2 separate regions of the Homo sapiens genome follow, and region 1 is linked to region 2. Evidence: promoter capture Hi-C in 16 types of primary human blood cells and fetal thymus (Javierre and others, 2016). All regions are on one chromosome and are shown on one strand. The core of a region is centred on a gene start or on the middle of the fragment in contact, and the rest is flanking DNA. Distances in the headings are between cores, read along the strand shown.

The links. The method cuts DNA at HindIII sites, captures the fragments that hold promoters and counts their contacts. A CHiCAGO score of 5 or more calls a contact.
Region 1: a contact is called between a fragment that was not itself captured here and the fragment with the promoter of FMR1-AS1 in region 2, in 4 of 17 cell types (total CD4 T cells, neutrophils, total B cells and 1 more). The highest score is 6.6, in total CD4 T cells.

The regions. Positions count from the first base shown.
Region 1 is chrX:149,605,121-149,610,887 of GRCh38, reverse strand. It overlaps TMEM185A (transmembrane protein 185A), which reads left to right. Exons shown (of 7, transcript NM_032508.4): 3 at 2,054-2,261. Among named protein-coding and RNA genes, the nearest start is that of HSFX2, 13 kb to the right of the region's middle. The HindIII fragment of the contact is 1,155 bases long and covers 1,897-3,051 here.
Region 2 is chrX:147,910,096-147,915,864 of GRCh38, reverse strand. It overlaps FMR1-AS1 (FMR1 antisense RNA 1), which reads left to right and starts at 4,048. Exons shown (of 2, transcript NR_024503.3): 1 at 4,048-4,223; 2 at 4,870-5,769. It overlaps FMR1 (fragile X messenger ribonucleoprotein 1), which reads right to left and starts at 3,946. Exons shown (of 17, transcript NM_002024.6): 1 at 3,635-3,946. The coding sequence starts at 3,685. RefSeq lists enhancers at 3,526-3,625, 4,206-4,415 and a silencer at 3,786-4,125. The HindIII fragment of the contact is 5,224 bases long and covers 1,540-5,769 here.

The DNA of each region.
Region 1 (5,767 bases), core at 1,225-3,724, 1.7 Mb before region 2:
GTCCCAGAGCTTTAGGACTATTAGCAGTGTAGGGGAGGTGGCTTGACCAGGAGACCATGAGTCCCTGAGACAGCAGCTGGGGAATGAGGAAAGTCAAAGATTGGATGCCGAGAAGGAAAGCAGAGCCTTTGGGGGCAGGGGAGAGGGGTACCCTTTACCGTTTCCAACTCTTGCCCTCCCTGCTCTTGGATGCCTCCGCTGGCCCAAATTCCTGGGAGTTGGCTCACGCCAGCATGCAACCTGCTTGTTGCTGGGACCTGCGAGAGTCTTTCCCTTCTCTGCCACAGAGACTGTAACTACATAAAGGGAAAAAGGGGGACTTAAGACTGGGAGGCTATTATGAACCTCCACTGGGAAAATGAGGAGTACAGGAATTCCCAGAAGGCAGCTGCTCATGTGGGAAAAGTGTAAAGTTGAAACTACCGCACCTTTTTTTTTTTTTTTTTTTTTTTTTTTTTTGAGACAGAGTTTCGCTCTTGTTGCCCAGGCTGGAGTGCAATGGTGTGATCTCGGCCCACTGCAGCCTCCACATCCCGGGTTCAAGTGATTCTCCTGCCTCGGCCTCCTGAGTAGCTGGGATTACAGGCACCTGCCACCATGCCCAGCTAATTTTTTGTATTTTTAGTAGAGATAGGGTTTCACCATGCCAGGCTAGTTTTGAACTCCTGACATCAGGTGATCCACCCGCCTTGGCCTCCTGAAGTGCTGGGATTACAGGTGTGAGCCACCACGTCCGGCCACTACATCAACTTTTTAAATTTTTGTTTACTAAATATGAAAATGATTCAGATTGTGTAAATTACATATCACATACATGTCTAAGAACTGTAAAACAGTTACACAGAGAGCCTTGGCAGGTGAGGGACATTCATGTATAGCTGTTTCAGAGTTCTTAGATTTTTTTTGAAAGATTGATGACCTGTGTGGCTGTATGTGTTTTATTTTTTTATGAGATATTTTCAGATATCTAATATTAATTGCTTCTCAAAGAATGCAAAGTTAAATAAACATTTAGGTTCTACTAATTGATATTTAGAATATATTCAAACTTCTCTTTGTTGGTCTTATTTAAGATGTTTTGAGCAAGGAAAGGAATTGTGTATGTGGGGTTGAATGTAAGGAATGTACAGGCGTGGTCATTCTCATGTTAACATTAACCAGTGGAACATGGTTGGGTCCTACAGGAATAACCTCTGATAGCATTTTCTCTATGATCTAACTTCCGGTGTATTTGTCACCCACAATACATGTATATCATAAATGTTCATCTGTATTTTGAATAAACATTGTAGGCCTTTCAGATGCATTATAGAGCCTTTTCCTGATTAGCGGCCTTACCATTGCTCAATTGTAGATCTGTTAAGGTTATTGTGCATGATACTTAGCTAATTAAACTGATTTTGTTTGAGAACAGTTTTAACTCTTGTTCTTCTTTCTCTTTCATGTGCAGGTGTTAATTTATCTTAATGGAATAGAAAGGAAAATGAAAATCATTTATACGTTTTATTTGCATTTAAAAATAGCACCTAACAATAGTTACTACTATCTTGAAATATAACTGGCACTTGTTCATAGAACTAGAGTTATTTTTATAATATTGTGTGAAGGGTGGTTTACATGGTTTCTTGAAAAATGAGGATCATGAGACTTAAGGGGTATTTGCCTGGTTTTAGCAGCAGAAGCAAATCAGCTTGAATAATCTTGGAAGTAACTCTTGTTGTTGAATTTAAAGATGTGAACAGAAGTGTTTATGTACATTGTCAGGGAAATAAGAACTGGCTATTACTTTTGAGAATATCCTTATACGGTTAAAACATTAAATTCTGGTTTGGTTGTAATGTTCATTTTGTATTATGTAGTAGTTCTTCGATGTTTCAGAGATTGCCTACCAAAGCTTAGGTTTAAGTTAGCTTTCTACCTGATTTCCCTTTGCTTTTGTCAAATTTTCAAGTAAAATTCAAAGTATAAATATAAGTTGGTATTTGCCCTGAACTGCTTGCTTATAGTGGAGATTCTGAACTGAGGGTGTTTTCTTCTTCTCTCCCTTTTTTAGAGCAGAAGGAGAAACGTGTGTGGAGTTTAAAGCCATGTTGATTGCAGTGGGCATCCACTTGCTCTTGTTGATGTTTGAAGTTCTGGTCTGTGACAGAATCGAGAGAGGAAGCCATTTCTGGCTCCTGGTCTTCATGCCGCTGTTCTTTGTTTCCCCGGTGTCTGTTGCAGCTTGCGTTTGGGGCTTTCGACATGACAGGTCACTAGAGGTGAGATTTCATATATTTAAGAATGTTTTCCACTTTGGGAGGTCAAGGCAGGTGGATCACTTGAGGTCAGGAGTTTGAGACCAGCCTGGCCAACATGGTGAAACCCCATCTCTACTAATAATACAAAAATTAGCCGGGTGTGGTGGCATGCGCCAGTAATCCCAGCTTCTCCGGAGGCTGAGGCGGGAGAATCTCTTGAACCCAGGAGGCGGAGGTTGCAGTGAGCCAAGATTGAACCATTGCACTCCAGCCTGGGTGACAGAATGAAACTCCGTCTTAAAAAAAAAAAAAAAGAATGTTTTCAAAAGTAAAATATTTTGCTCAGTTATTCAGATGTCAATTTCTTACCCTTTGTTAGGAAGAGCTTGATCATTACCAACTCTACATCATGAGACAACAAGGCAACAAAAGATGATGGAAATAACAATTTTTCTTTCTTCACTTAGAACACTAGCTTTTCACCCAGGACATCAGCCTTCTCCCAGCTTCACATCCTGTATCAATCAGACAGAAACAGAACTGATAGGTTAGATACAGATATATGTATAAAGAGAGTTAAGGAACTGGCTCACATTACTGTGGGGCTGGCAAGTCTGAAATCTCCAGGGCAGGTGAACAGGCTGGAGACCTAGGAGGAGTTGACACTGCAGTCCTGGCACAGAATTTTTTCCTCTCCAGGAAACCACAGTTTTTGCTTTTAAGGCCTTCACCTGATTGCATGAGGCCCACCCATGCTATGGAGGGTAGTCTCCTTTATTCAAAGTCAGTACCTTCACTGCAACAGCAAGCTTAGTGTTTGATTAAATAACTGGGTACTATAGCCCAGCCAAGTTGACACTCAAAACTGACCATCTCCCCACCTCAGACCCCATGATTTAGCACCTCCCCTGCTGTCTGGTTAGCTTATCCTGATGTGCCCCTGTGTTTGTTTATTCATTCAATAAACATTTATCAAGTATTTACTAGATGCCAAGCCCTTTTTCCCTAAGCATAGAGGATATGCAGATGAATAAAATACCAGGACTAGTAATAATAGTAATGAAAGTAATTGCAGATAACGTTTATTGAGCACTTACTGTGTGCCAGGCATTGTGCGAGGCACATTACATGTGGTAGTTTTCTTACTAACTAACTCTGTGAGGTAGGTCCAGAGAAGATAAGTCATTTGTTCATGGCCACATGTGAAGGGGCAGGACCAGGATTCCGTTTGAGTCAGCCCGACTCTAAAGCCCGGGCACATAACTACATAACTGCATAGAAGCTGAGGGCCCAAAGCTGAATACTGATGGGTTGAGGGGAGAACTAGAGGCTGTAGATGCCTGGTTTTGAGCCGTGTGGATGAAGAGTGAAGGGAGAAGACTGCAGTTGGCTTAGGAAGTAAACATAGCAGCTGTAGGGTGGGTCAGGCATATAAGCCTAGACCCCAGGTATGGGCGTGAGGGGAAGGTATGTAGACAGAGGGACGGTGATGGAGCAAGGCCCTGTGGGACTCAGGGAGAATGGGACCTAGAGCACCAGGAAGGGTTTGGCCTTGAACAAGGGGAGCTATTCCCTGATTTTCATGCTGGTGGAAAGGCCACAGCATGGGTATAGTGGTAGGTAGGAGTGAGCCGTGGAGGGAGAGTATCTGATGGTCCACTTTCACCCTCCCTACAATTCCCAGTTTATATCAGGGACTTGAGCATCCATGGATTTTGGTATCCACAGGGGGTCCTGGAACCAATCCCCCACAGATACTGAGGGACAACTATACAAGGACTAGGACTGCATTGGGCCTGAATTACAGAAAGTAAGTCTTTCATATATTCACACTCTAGGCATTCCTGCCCTTGGAAGAAACAACATACCAGGAGCTGAGCTCCCTCCTCCTGTGATGCAAGAACAGTACCTATGTTGGTGAGGGGGTGGTCTGGAGTAGGCTCATACAGAGATGGGAAGGAGGAGTTGAGGGTCTGCCAGGAAGCCCTGTGTTGGGAGGGAAGGGATGGCATTTTTGGGACACATTGAAGCCTAGAGGCAGGAAACACTCCATCAGCTGAGTGGACTGTGGCGATTCAGATCCGACGGGAGCACAAGGTGGAAAGGAAGGAACTGTGGGAGTTGAGAAGAGAGGGAGCCTCTACAGAGGGATTGGGGCAAATAGGGGCCACGTCCTCAGCCCACAGAGCATGTGCTGAAGTGCCCCAGGCACCCCAGTGCACTCACAGGGCACCAGGGGATAGTGGACATTTTGAGGAAAACAGTAATACCTGACATTTGTTGGGACACCATACAAACTACTAGCTTGAAATAGTTTACAGGTTTATTTTTAGGCCACACTGCATTCCTTTCAGTGACGTCGTATCTTTAAGAAGCTGGGTTTTCAGCAGTTGCTGTGAAAACAAAAAAGGCTAATGCTGTGTGAAAATCCGGGTGAAGAACAGGTAACGAGTGGGAGCACCTTGTCTGATTCCAAGGCGTGGGAAATGGTGAGCTACCTGACAGGCACACGCATCCCACTGGGAATTAGTTTTGGTTATTTAAGAATAATATTAACATTTTTCTTTAGATTTATATGAATTATTTTTTCTAGTGGCTACTTAGAAATACTTACTAAGTTAGATGTAATTACTTAAATCAGTGCAACTGTTGGCATTCCCAGCCACATTAGGGATTTCTTTTGGCCTAGAGGTCTATGGAGGAATTACTAAATTCCCCATGTACCTATGTACTGAGAACTTTTGGGAAGCTCTGGGCCTGGTCCCAGATTTCAATTTTGTGGGCAAGAATGTACTTTACCAGAGTGAGGAGCAGCCTGCAGGGCGTTTGGGCTGGAGGCGGGAGGTTAGTAAGGGGTTGCTGAAGTGGTAGGCGGATGGTGCCGAAGAAGGCCTCACTAGGCAGTCATCATCAGGATAGGAAGTGGGCACGGGATTCAGGAGAAATCTGGACTTTACAGTGGACAGGATGTGGTGACTGAACGTGACAGTGTGGGAAAAAGAATGCAGGGTGATTCCCGGGCTCATGGCTTGAGAAATGAGACCACTGTTGTGCCTCCAAGTGACATGGGAGGCTATAGAAAGTGACATGGGAGGCTATAGAAAGTGACATGGGAGGCCATAGAAAGTGACATGGGAGGCCATAGAAAGTGACATGGGAGGCCATAGAAAGTGACAAGGGAGGCCATAGAAAGTGACATGGGAGGCCATAGTGACATGGGAGGCCATAGAAAGTGACATGGGAGGCTATAGAAAGTGACATGGGAGGCTATAGAAAGTGACATGGGAGGCCATAGAAAGTGACATGGGAGGCCATAGAAAGTGACATGGGAGGCCATAGTGACATGGGAGGCCATAGAAAGTGACATGGGAGGCTATAGAAAGAGGAGATACAAGGTTCTAAGTGCAGGCGATAATGATCTCTATTTGGGACTGGCTTCATTTGAGGTGCCTTTAGGAGAGCCGAGTGGCCTATGCACAGCTGGGTCTGCTATGCAGCAGGAAGGCTAAGTTGGAGACAGATGTGAG
Region 2 (5,769 bases), core at 2,799-5,298:
ATCCTGACCCTTAATGGCCCTGACACTTGGTAGTAAGTCACTTACCTAACCTCTCTGTGCATCATTTAAAGAATGGGAATAACAACAATACATCAAATAAAGTATCAGAGAGAACAGTGCCTGGCACCTAGAAAGTACTCATCCCCTGTTAACTATTATTATAATCACGATCCCAATCTTCTCAGGAAGCACATTCCTATAGTGGGCAGAAATCAGAAACTCCAGTAATATACCACTGAATGTTGCATCTAATTAATAATTTGGAGGTTATGAGAATATTTAAGTATGGGGTTAGAAAATGCACAGTTCAAAAGGGGAAAAATGATGCAGCCACAAAGATCCTAAAAACTAAAAAGGGCAATCAGACTGTAGGAAGGAAAAAAAATGTGGTTGACCCCAATAATTCACTTCCTCGAAGTACAGAATAACACCTTTATGCAAAGTTAGCTCAGGAGACTTCAGAGAAACCACGAGTGCAAGTTTATTTACACTTTACCCAAGTTGATTTATAAACTTATAAATTTATAAACCTTATGCAAGTTTATTTGTAGTAAAACTGATTTTACTACATTTCAGCTATGTATCTGAAATGACATGTTAGACCACTAATATCTTCATTAAAAATATCCTTTTGATTGTACACTTTATCATATTTAGCTGCTAGCTGCCATAATACTACTAACCAAATGAAAGTCTGTCCTCAAACACTGAACTTAAAAAAGTATAATCTAACAACAAAATTACAATCTAGTATAATTACACCATATTACAACAAGGAATCAGAAATCAGAGGTTGTATTTTCAGAAAACAAAAAGGTTTGTATCTTATGTCTCCAACATGTGATTTTTCCATCTTTAGTAATTTTCATACTAGTACACAAAACCTACAAATCTTAGGATTCATTAGGGCATTCATATTGGAGTGATACGCATTCTACATTTAAAATGGAGTTAATTCATTACCATTCTCAACACATCAAAACTTCTAGTCCAAAGAAAACAAATTATGTGGGGCAGATGCACCTAGAATAAAGACTTTATTTCATCATTATTCATTTAGAAAATACTTTGTAAAGATTTTATGAGGTGTAAGTCAAAGTGCCTTCATATCTTAACACCTGCAGGGCACTATAAAGTGGTACACGTGACCAATTTTTTCTAAGTCAAACAAATACCTAAGCATAAAAGTAGTGGCTCTGGTGATCGCTAAATCTAACTTTTAAGTTTTTAAGAATAAACACCAGAAGATAGAGAGCTGTCCTTGCAAATATGGTGGTTATGTTAGGCAAATCAAAGTCTGAATTCCATTATACTCAAGTTGTTTGATTTGTTTAGTTTTAAAAGCTTTTCTATCAATTTGATGAACAAGGTTCCTATTTCTTTTTCCATAAATGTAACACTTCTCCACAGCAGTTCATTTTTCATTGGTTTTTATTTCACATCTTTCCTGTCCATCCCACTGGACAAGCAACTCAGTTTACTTTTGCTTTACTTTTAAAACTCACAGCAGTATTATAAGTCATATAAAAATTTCAAGCTTTTTTGTTACAGAAACTGTTCTTCCATCAGTGCAGACCATTTGAGATTTTCTTAGAAATCAAACTTAATTAAATAAACATAACAGCAATTTGTCTGACACACACTTGTTCAAGTATTAACATTTCTCCTCAGGGAACTAAGGGGCAACCAACCTATTCTTCATTCACCTTCAAGTTAAACAACTTCGTTACAAAACAAAACAAAAAAGGAGGGAATTAATAGCAAAAATAGAAGGCATTTCTTATATTCCAGTCAGTGTGCAAGCAAAATCACTGGAGCAAATCATAAGTTGCTGGAAGAGAACAATAAGTACTTCAAGGCCATAATGTGCTACTTGCCCTCTGTGATAAGCAAACTTTAGTGGCATCCAATCTAAGTTTATATCACAGGTCAATCAAAATCTTGCCTAACCATTAGCCGTTACTCACACATATATATGTATATGTATTATAGTTATTAGTGCCAGAAATCTAGTGACCAAAACCACTAATCTAGGACCGTGAACGATTCTACGCAAACTCACCAGAAGAAATTATGGATCAATAAAATCAATGAAATTAAAATTTTGACTGCAGAGTCAACTGAAACAATTTCATATTCATGAGACTGTTAAGAACATAAACGCGGGGTTACCTTTTGCCTCCTTTTACAGCAAAAGGCTTTATCTTTGTGCTCAAAGTATGGAACAGTTTACATACTTTACTCATTTATGAAATATACTGATCTCCAAATGTCTTCATAAAATTGGTAAACACAGAATAAAGTCAATTGTTTATTTTCCTATAGCCAAACGTGTCCTGTCTGAAACATTCAAGCCATTCTACAATACATTTAAGAATTGTGTTGGACACTGCTAATAGCTATTTTCCAGCCTTCCTTCCACACGCACCTTCTATTGCCAAAATACTGTAGTAAGGTGGGATATTATTGAAAGAGGTTATAGACATTCAAAAGGAAATGAGAATTTATAGATGAATTTATACAGCACCTACATACCAACAAACGCACTACTGCTACATCAAATTTGTAAATCTTCCTTTTAAAACTGAAAGGTGTTAGTTGATCTGCAATGGTGTAACTTTAAAAAGCACAGTAAACCCATGAATGCCTATATAAAGCCTCAACAATTCAGTCCACTGCAACACCACAAATTCAAAGGAAATGTGGTCAAGTTCTTAGGGGCACAAAAATATTTTCGCTCAGTTAAAAAAAAAATGCCCTAGTAATAATATACTCTCAGTTAATTACCTGAAGTTTCATGGCATATATTTAGGTCTTTGGAAACTTAAACACACACACACAATTTTTAAGTAGCAGCGCTGCTAATGGTTTTAGACGCTGAAGCATGTGCATTCCTGAATTTACCCCGTTTAACAAAAAGGGGGACGCGAATATTCACGATGATCAACTTCTTCAATGCACTGCTGGGCCATGTTAGGGTCTTCCTGAAACTTTTGGATCTAAAATCTCCTCCGAAATCCACAAAGAGAAGCCACTAAAAATCAGTTGCCATTGTGATTTGGTGCCGACTACCGCTTCTTACTACTCTTTCTTCACAGCCCTCGCCCAGAACAGTGGAGCTCTCCGAAGTCCCAATGCTAGACCGGAAAAGAGAAGCCAAAGGAGACCTGAAGCCCTCTTGGCGCTGCAGGAGGCGGCCCGGCTGAAGCGCCCCCCGCTCCTCCACAACTACCCACACGACAGGCCCGGATCCCGCTGGGAGATGATGTTTAGGAAAGGGGGAATAAGCCATCGCCGTCACTTAGCGCCGATTTCGGCCCTTCCCGCCCGGCTCTAGTACCTGCCGCCGGCCCTCGCCCATCCCCAGCTCACCCCGGCGGGGCTCGGCGCCGAAAGAGAACCCTCTCCTCGCTGGTCTCTCATTTCGATAGGCGCTAGGGCCTCTCGGAGTCGGAGAGGGGCTTCCAACAGGCCCCAAGTCCAGTCCTTCCCTCCCAACAACATCCCGCCGAGCGTGCCCTGGCACCCAGGCGCGGTGCTCGGGAAGAGGGCCCCGGGCCTGCCTCCCGCCGACACCAAGAAGAAAAGGGAGGGAAGGAAGGGCGAAGATGGGGCCTGCCCTAGAGCCAAGTACCTTGTAGAAAGCGCCATTGGAGCCCCGCACTTCCACCACCAGCTCCTCCATCTTCTCTTCAGCCCTGCTAGCGCCGGGAGCCCGCCCCCGAGAGGTGGGCTGCGGGCGCTCGAGGCCCAGCCGCCGCCGCCGCCGCCGCCGCCGCCGCCTCCGCCGCCGCCGCCGCCGCCGCCGCCGCCGCGCTGCCGCACGCCCCCTGGCAGCGGCGCCTCCGTCACCGCCGCCGCCCGCGCTCGCCGTCGGCCCGCCGCCCGCTCAGAGGCGGCCCTCCACCGGAAGTGAAACCGAAACGGAGCTGAGCGCCTGACTGAGGCCGAACCCCCGGCCCGCTGCGGGTGTAAACACTGAAACCACGTCACGTGATCAACGCTGTTCCCTCCCCCCGCGGGCTCAGCCCCTCGGCCCCGCCCTCTCTCTTCAAGTGGCCTGGGAGCGCGCGCATGCGCGCTGCTGGGAACCGGCCGGGGTGCCGGGTCGAAAGACAGACGCGCGGGCCGGGCGTGCGCGGGCTTGGTGGAGGGCGGGAAGGCTGAAGGGCGGTGACAGGTCGCACTGCCTCGCGAGGGCCAGAACGCCCATTTCTGCAGAGGTGCACTCAGTGGCGTGGGAAATCAAATGCATCCGGTTATCCCAGTTCGGCCTCTCTGGGATTCCGCGGGAGGGGGTGTCTGGTCTGGTTTGGTTTGGTTTGGTTTGGTTTGGTTTGGTCCGGTTCAAAGTAGCGCAGTCTGACTGAGCGGGAGGTGGAGTGGAAGGCGAGAATAGGGGTGAAGGATTAGACAGAAGAAGACTTTGAACTAGGAACAGTGGCAACCAGGGTGACCCAGGCTTTTGTGACCCGTAGAGGCAGAAGGTGAGGCGTCTACGCCCTCTCTCACCAGATTTTGGGCGGCCCTGTGGAGACACCCTGTGCCCTTTAAGGGACATGGATTGAGTCGGGATCTCAAAATGTGAGCCTTTCCTCAGACCCAGCTTTGACCCACGTACTCGCCTTTCCTCAACTCATTTTCATACTTTCACTTGACTATATATTTTTTAAAAATTGTGTTAAGCACTTGAGGTTCATTTCTGCCCCTACTGTATGTGCACCCTGTGCCAGAGGGTGGGGTGAACACGTGTGTAGCAGTCATGCGTCCTGTCCACAGGGGCCGATGCACCTCCTTGCAACCCTTTACATTCCACTGTGAAACAAACCTCAACTTTTTCTTATTCCTGTTTTTACACCGTGCTTATAGCTGCCTTAATCCATGTTCCCTTCGGGATGCTGGTATCCAACTGAGAAGTTGACGGAGCATCTATCGTGTGCCAGACACTGTGCTAAGTGCTAACGAGAAATCGGTGAGCAAAACAGAAAAGAAAAAAAAAGAAGAAACGACTGCCAGCATTGAACTTAGTACCTAGCAAAGTAGGTGGACATAAATCAAATTGTCAGACAAGTAAATGAGTAGTTGCAGCTGTGATAAGGGGTATGAAGAATAGGCGCTTCCATGATGGCGGAACATGACCTAGTCTGGGGTGGAGAAGGGGAGATGATTCCAGCTGGAATATGGCAGGTGAGAGTTAACTAATAGCACTGAGTTGGCAGAGGCAGGATGACCTGCCCCAGGCAGGTGCCCCAGAATGAGAGGATGTTGCTGCTGGTGGAACTCCAGCTTTAAAGCGGTGGATCTAGGGCCACATTCCTCAAGGCCATAGCAAACAGGAAAGACCTTTTGGACTAGGGTCTTTGGAGTAGTCACATGAGGCCAAGAACCCAATAGGGCTGAAAGAGAATCTCATCATAGGCTGAATGGGAGCAGAGCATTAGCTGCAACTCCAATGTATTATAGTAAAAGGGGACACATTGATTAGAATGATTATACCCCTCCAAGTGTAAGCTGTTGTTCAATTTACCCAGGGCTTAAAAATATGTCAACTCTTCACAACCATTTTTACTACAAGCCACACTCAACCTGTGTTGTTCCCTGAACCTGTGATGCACTTTCATCCGTTCATGTCTCTACACATCCTTCCTGGGCCCCATAGAGGCCCTGCACCTTAAGGTTTTCAGCTGGATTCCTATTAGCTAGTTATTTTATCTCAGGTACAGAGAGTTAACTTTGCTCCTCAATTTTCAGCACATTGTCATATCAGTC